2 separate regions of the Homo sapiens genome follow, and region 2 is linked to region 1. Evidence: promoter capture Hi-C in human tissues and cell types (Jung and others, 2019). All regions are on one chromosome and are shown on one strand. Each heading gives the region's core, a stretch centred on a gene start or on the middle of the fragment in contact. The rest is flanking DNA. Distances are from core to core; before and after follow the strand shown.

What was found. Contacts are between HindIII fragments. The study calls those that stand out against the background at their distance.
Region 2: a fragment that was not itself captured here is called in contact with the fragment with the promoter of MIEN1 in region 1 in 1 of the 25 tissues and cell types used here (lymphoblastoid cells).

What each region holds. Positions count from the first base shown.
Region 1 is chr17:39,728,812-39,732,574 of GRCh38, forward strand. It overlaps MIEN1 (migration and invasion enhancer 1), which reads right to left and starts at 1,721. Exons shown (of 4, transcript NM_032339.5): 1 at 1,596-1,721; 2 at 1,383-1,480; 3 at 874-950; 4 at 1-794. The coding sequence starts at 1,684. The coding sequence ends at 711. RefSeq lists a silencer at 1,403-1,962. The HindIII fragment of the contact is 5,525 bases long and covers 1,442-3,763 here.
Region 2 is chr17:39,999,833-40,003,595 of GRCh38, forward strand. No RefSeq gene overlaps it. Among named protein-coding and RNA genes, the nearest start is that of PSMD3-AS1, 13 kb to the right of the region's middle. The HindIII fragment of the contact is 8,544 bases long and covers 1-3,763 here.

The DNA.
Region 1 (3,763 bases), core at 471-2,970:
GGAGATCGGGAAGCTGGATTCAGATCTGAGAGCCCTTTGACGACCAGATCATTCTTATTTAGAACGAACTAATTCCTAAGGCCACTCACCAGAATGGGGTTATTTCCTCCTTGTGAGTGAGGAGAGTGGTGGGTAGGGTGGGGGAAAGACGAGGCAGGGTCTACTGTGGGACTCATTTTCCTTGCCTTGGCTATGCCAGAGGAGCTCACTGACCTAAGGAGTAGCTGTCCAGAAAGCCCACCCAGCCAGCACAGCCACCCTGGCGGTGCAAAGGCTGGGCTGACCGGACTTCTGTGCCCCCCACATTCCCAGACTGGACGTATAAAAACACACACTAGTTAGCATTAGTGTTTGTAGCGCCACTTTACTGCCAATAGCTGACATTGCCCTGGGTTAGGGGAGAATAAATAAAATCTGTGGCATCAGACAGGTATTACCGAGGCGAAGAGTGGACTGGGCTTTCGTGGGCACTTACCCTGGGAAGGGGGTATGAGGTGGCTGGAGAAGTGTTCATGGAGAGTGTCTCTCTCCTGCCCCCAAGGCCACGGAATCTTCTATTCCTTCTTTGTACCCAAAGGGCAAAGTGGAGGCCAGGGTCTCTTTGCTAAGGAGCTAAGTAGGGGAAAGAGGCAGGGGGAGCTCCCAGCAGGACCAAAGGGAGACCAAGGTTTGGACCCCAGAACAGAGCAGGAACCCAGAGTCCTGTGCAGTCACAGGATGACGCAGGGAGGACGGCTGTTGGTGATCTTTTCTAGGGTTTCTCCATTACTGGCTCTTCGGATGGCCTCAATGAGCTAGAGGAGTGGAATGACAGGATGATGCACTGTTGGGGTAGGGTGACCAAGAGGTCCTCCCAACGCTGTAAATACTCACATCTTTCTCATAGGGAAAGCCCCCATTCTCCAGCTTGGAGAACACCAGCTGTCCATTTATCTCTATCTCAAAGGCACCTGGTAAGAAATCAACAGATAAATGGTACACTGAGAACATAGGCAGAAGTCAGGAGTTCCTCCAAAGGGGTCCCCCGCCTTCAAGTCCCCCATCAATCCCACTGGAGACCCATTTGTAGCTCCTTAAGCAATTCCCCAACCCTGGGTCAACTCCAGGGAACCTGAGGGAGGCCTCGCCTGTGTGCCCCTCGCAACACTCAATAAAGGACTCCCTCCCCTCCAACCCTACACGATTGCAGTCTAATAGGTTTTTCCCCACAGGCCTCTGTGACACCCCCTGACCTATGGAAGGGAACTCATGTTGGCCGGACATTTTACCATGTGCCAGGCACTGCGGGCACTTTACATAAAGCAGCCAATGTCAGAACTAGAAAGCGGGAGAGCTGGGATTCAGAGCACAGACTGACCCAGCAGGTGTTCTGCGAGCCTCACCTGTGCCCCCGAGGCGCGACTCGATCTCGATGCCCGGATACTGCTCCTTCACAGCACTGGCCAGCTCCAGGTAGGTCGCCTCGAAGCCGCAGGGTTCACTGGGGAGTCAAGAGATGGGGCTGGGCTGGGGATTCGGGGGTGGGGCCTCCCGTGGACCCACCTCCGTCCGGCCCGCGGGACCAGGGTGCGGGTCCTCCAGCCGGGGCCGCTCACCAGTACTCCACCACGATGCGGACCCCACTGCCCGGCTCGACCTCCTCGGGAGGGGGCGCTACGGACGTCTGCCCCGGCTCCCCGCTCATCGCGGCCGGCTCCGCTCGGGCCCCTGCTTCCGGGTGTGACGCGAACCGCGGGCACGTGACGGGGCGGGGCCTCTGGAGCGGGGAGGGGCCGAGGGTGGCGTTCGGGCGCCCCCTGCGGGTCTCCGCCACTGCTACGTTTTGACCTCGTAGGGCAGCTCCGGAGCTCGCTCCCCGGGCAGGGGCTGGGTCCGGTCCAGACCCTCCTTCCCTGGCCCGGTCTCCCGGAGTGCCGGGCTTCCCCACTCCCCACTCCCGGTGTCCGCTGGACTTCATGGCTTCATTTACTCTAATGGACTATCTTAGACTGCAAAGCGCTTTTCAGTTTACAAAAGAAAGAGAAAGTGGTGGGGCAAGCATCCTGGGGATGGGGGTGGGTGTGGCTGATGCATGAAATAGTTGACATTTTCTCGCTAACATGCCGATGGCATTTTTTTTTTTTTTTTTTTTGAGACGGAGTTTCGCTCTTGTTGCCCAGGCTGGAGTGCAATGGCGCGATCTCGGTTCACTGCAACCTCTGCCTCCCGGGTTCAAGCGATTCTTCTGCCTCAGCTTCCCGAGTAGCTGGGACTACAGGCGCGTGCCACCGCACCCGGTTAATTTTGTATTCTTAGTAGAGACAGGGTTTCATCATGTTGGTCAGGCTGGTCTCGAACTCTTGACCTCAGGTGATCCACCAGCCTCGGCCTCCTAAAGTGCTGGAATTACAGACATGAGCCACCGCGCCTGGCCCAGTTTTTTGTTTGTTTGTTTGTTTGTTTTAGTAGAGACAGGGTTTCACCATGTTCGCCAGACTGGTCTCGAACTCCTGACCTCAAATGATCTGCCTGCCTTGGCCTCCCAAAGTGCTGGGATTACAGGCGTGAGCCACCACGCCCGGTGCTGATGGCATTTGGAACCACCCTGTAGTTACATACACAAGTGTTTCTGATCCCAAAGCTCTAAACTGCTTTTTCCAGTCTTTTGCAGCTGCTTCTTGCCTGCACTGGAAAACAGTAGATGCTCTTCAGGCTCTGTGCCCCCAACAGTTTCTGCGCATCCCTTCTCATCCAGCCTCTCACTGGGGGGCTGGCGTCATTATTCCCATTTTGCAGCTCTGGAAATGGAGTCTGCACAAGTCCTCGCTGCCTTTTCCCTGCCTACAGTACCACTATGGTATCCTAACACGCCACCCACTCTAGTGTCCCTTTAGGCTATTTATTTATTTATTTATTTATTTTGAGATGGAGTCTCACTCTGTCACCCAAGCTTGAGTGCAGTGGCGCGATCTTGGCTCACTGCAACCTCCACCTCCTGGGTTCAGGCGATTCTCCTGCCTCAGTCTCCCTAGTAGCTGAGATCATAGGTGCCAGCCACCACGCCCAGCTAACTTTTGTATTACTATTATTATTATTTTTTTGAGACAGAGTCTTGCTCTGTTGGCCAGGCTGGAGTGCAATGGTGCGATCTCGGCTTACTGCAACCTCTGCCTTCCGGCCTCAAGTGAGTCTCCTGTCTCAGCCTCCTGAGCAGCTGGGATTACAGGTGCCCACCACCAAGCCAGCTAATTTTTCTATTTTTAGTACAGATGGGGTTTCACCATGTTGGCCAGGCTGGTCTCGAACTCCTGAAGTTGTGATCTGCCCATCTTGGCCTCCCAAAGTGCTGGGATTACAGGTGTGAACCACTGCACCCGGGCTCATTTTTTTTTTTTTTAAACCAGGCAGGTCGTAGTGGCTCACACCTGTAATCCCAGCGTTTTGGGAGGCCAAGGTGGGCGGATCACTTGACGCCAGGAGTTCAAGACCAGCCTGGCCAACTCGACAAAACCCTGTCTCTACTAAAAATACAAAAATTAGCTGGGTGTGGTGGCGCACCAGCTACTCCAGAGGCTGAGGCAGGAGAATCGCTTGAACCTGGGAGGTGGAGGTTGCAGTGAGCTGAGATCTCACCACTGCACTCCAGCCTGGGTGACAGAGTGAGACTGTGTTCCAAAAAAAAAAGAAAAGAAAAGAAAAGAAAGAAAATGCAGTGATTTGTACTGTTGCCTAACCATCACTACAATCCAGTTACAGAATGTTTCCGTCAACCTGATAAGTCCTT
Region 2 (3,763 bases), core at 887-3,386, 270 kb after region 1:
CCAGCCTGGCCAGCATGGTGAAACCCCGTCTCTACTACAAATACAAAAACTAGCCAGGCATGGCAGTGGGCGCCTGTAATCCCAGCTACTCGGGAGGCTGAGATAGGAGAATCCTTGAAACCGGAAGGCAGAGGTTGCAGTGAGCCGAGATCACACCACTGCACTTCAGCCTGGGTAACAAAAGCGAAACTCTGTCTCAAAAAAAATGTTTTAAAAAGAGTTCGAGACCAGCCTGGCCAACATGGCAAGACCCCATCTCTACTAAAAATACAAAAAATTAGCTGGGCGTGGTGGTGCATGCCTGTACTCCGAACTACTTAGGACGCTGAGGCAGGAGAATCGCTTGAAGTGGGGAGGCGGAGGTTACCATGAGTCAAGATCGCACCACTGCACTCCAACCTGGGTGACAGAGCGAAATTCTGTCTCAAAACAATAAAAAATAAAAATGATAAATTAAATTAAAAGTGCTGCTCTAGTGGACACACAAATGATATGAAAGCAGAATAGCATTATTGCTGATACGGAGAAAGTTTGAGTCTGGAAAGAAGATCAAATCAGCCACAACATTCCTTTAAGCCAAAGCCTAGTCCGGAGAAAGGCCCTCACTCTCTTCAATCCTTTGAAGGCAGAGAGAGGTGAGAAAGTTGCAGAAGAAAAGTCAGAAGCTAACAGAGGTTGTTTTGTGAGGTTGAAAGAAAGAAGCCGTCTCTGTAACATAAAAGTGCAAAGTGAAGCAGCAAGTGCTGATGGAGAAGCTGCAGTAAGTTATCCATCAGATCTAGCTGATCTCACTGACGAAGGTGGCTACACTCAAAAACAGACTTTCAATGTAGACAAACAGCCTTCTATTGGAAGAAGATGCCACCTGGGACTTTCATAGCTACAGAAGAGAAGTCAATCCCTGGCTTCAAAGCTTCGAAGGACAGGCTGACTCTCGTTAGGGCTAATGCAGCTGGCGACTTTAAGTTGAAGCCAATGCTCATTTACCATTCCGAAAATCCCAGGGCTCTTAAGAATGATGCTAAATCTATTCTGCCTGTGCTCTGTGGATGGAACAACAAAGCCTGGATGACAGCCCATCTGTTCCCAGCATGGTTTACCGAACATTTTAAGCCACTGTTGAGACCAACTCCTTCGTCGGCTCTGTCGGCCAGGCTGGAGTGCCGTGGCATGATCTCAGCTCACTGCAACCTCTGCTTCTAGGTTCAAGCGATTCTCCTGCCTCAGCCTCCTGAGTAGCTGGGATTACAGGCATGAGCCACCGCACTCAGCCAAAAAAAATATTTTTTAAAGTTATTACTGCTGATTGACGATGCACCTGATTACCCAAGGGCTCTGATGGAGGGATACCAGGGAAATAATATTGTTTTCATTCCTGCTAACACATCCATTCTGCAGCCCATGGATGAAGAAGTAATTTCAACTTTCAAGTCTTTTTTAAGAAATACATTTTGTAAGGCTAGAGCTGCCATAGTGATTCCGCTGATGGATCTGGGTAAACTGAAAACTTAGAAAGCATTCATCATTCTAGATGCCATTAAGAATATTCATGATTAGGGCCGGACGTGGTGGCTCATGCCTATAATCCCAGCACTTTGGGAGGCTGAGGCAGGTGGATAAACTGAGGTCAGGAGTTTGAGACCAAGCTGGCCAACATGGTGAAACTCCATCTCCACTAAAAATAAATAAATAAATAAATAAATAAATAAATAAATAAATAAATACAAAACTTAGTCAGGTATGGTGGCACGCACCTGTAGTCCCAGCTACTCGGGAGGCTGAGACATGAGAATCGCTTGAATCCGGGAGGCAGAGGTTGCAGTGAGCCGAGATCGTGCCAATGCACTTCAGCCTGGGTGACAGAGTGAGACTCTCTCAAAAAACAAAAAAAGAATATTCATGATTAGGCCGGGAGTGGTGGCTGACACCTATAATTCCAGCACTTTGGGAGGCTGAGGCAAGAAGATCGCTTGAGCCCAGGAGGCCAAGAGCAGCCTGAATAACAAAGTGAGAACCCATCTGTATTAAAAAAATTTAAAAATTAGGCCGAGTGCAGCGGCTCACACCTGTAACTCCAGCACTTTGGGAGGATGAAGCGGGTGGATCACTTGAGGACAGGAGTTCGAGACCAGCCTGACCAACATGGTGAAACCACATCTCTACTAAAAATACAAAATTAGCCGGGCATGGTGGCGCTTTCCTGTAACCCCAGCTATTTGGGAGGCTGAGGCAGGAGAATCGCTTGAACCCGGGAGGCGGAGGTTGCAGTGAGCCGAGATCATGCCATTGCACTCCAGCCTGGGTGACAAAAGCAAGGCTCCATCTCAAAAAATTAACATTAGCAGGAGTTTGAAAGAAGTTGATTACAACCTTCATGGGTGACTTTGAGGGGCTGAAGACACACTTCAGTGGAGGAAAAAACTGCAGATGTAGAAATAGCAAAAGAACTAGAATTAGAAGTGGACCCTGAGGCCAGGCCCACTGGCTCACACCTGCAATCCCAGCAATTTGGGAGGCCAGGGCAGGAGGATAACTTGAGCTCAGAAGTTCCAAACCAACCTGGGTAACATAGCAAGACCTCGTCTCTACAAAAAAAAAAAAAAAAAAAAAAAAAGTGGAGCCTGAAGATGGGACTGAATTGCTGCCATCTCATGATAACATTTGAACAGATGAGTTGCTTCTATGGATGAGCAAGGAAAGTGGTTTCTTGAGATGGAATCTACTCCCGGTGAAGAGGCTGTGAACATTGCTGAAATGGCAACAAAGATTTAGGATATTACATATACTTAGTTGATAAAGCAGCAGCAGTTTGAGAGGATTGACTCCATTTCTTTCTTTCTTTTTTTTTTTTTTTGAGATGGAGTCTTGCTCTGTCGCCCAGGCTGGAGTGCAGTGCAGTGGCATGATCTTGGCTCACTGCAACCTCCACCTCCTGGGTCCAAGAGGTTCTCCCACCTCAGCCTCCCCAGTAGCTGGGACTACAGGTGCACGCCACCACGCCCAGTTAATTTTTTTCTATTTTTGGAAGAGATGGGGTTTCACCATGTTGGCCAGGCTGGTCTCGAACTCCTGACCTCAGGTGATCCACCCGCCTCAGCCTCCCAAAGTGCTGTGATTACAGGCGTGAGCCACCGCTCCAGGCCAGCATTGACTTCAATTTTGAAAGAAGTTCTACTGTGGGTAGAACGATGTCAAACAGCATCATATGCTATAGAGAAACCTTTCTAGAAATGGAGAGTCGGCCGGGCATGGTGGCTCACACCTGTAATGCCAGCACTTTGGGAGGCCGAGGCGGGCAGATCACCTGAGGTCAGGAGTTCGAGACCAACCTGGCCAACATGGTGAAATCTCGTCCCTACTAAAAATACAAAAATGAGACGGGCATGGTGGTGGGAGCCTGTAATCCCAGCTTCTTGGGAGGCTGAGGCAGGAAAATTGCTTGAATCTGGGAGGCGGAGCTTGCAGTGAGCCGGGATCGTGCCACTGCACTCCAGCCTGGGCAACAGAGGGAGACCCCATCTCAAAACAAAACAAAACAAACAAAAACACAAAAATGAAAAAAGAAAAGTCAATTGATGCAGAAAATTTCATTATTTTCTTATTTTAAGAAATTGTTTTCACCTGAAGGCACTAGGAAAAATAAAAACAAAAATAAGGAAAAAAAAAAGAAATTGCTACAGTCACCCCAAACTTCACCAGCCACCACCCTGATCAGTGAGTGGTCATCAACATGAGGCAAGACCCTTCACTAGCAAAAAGATTA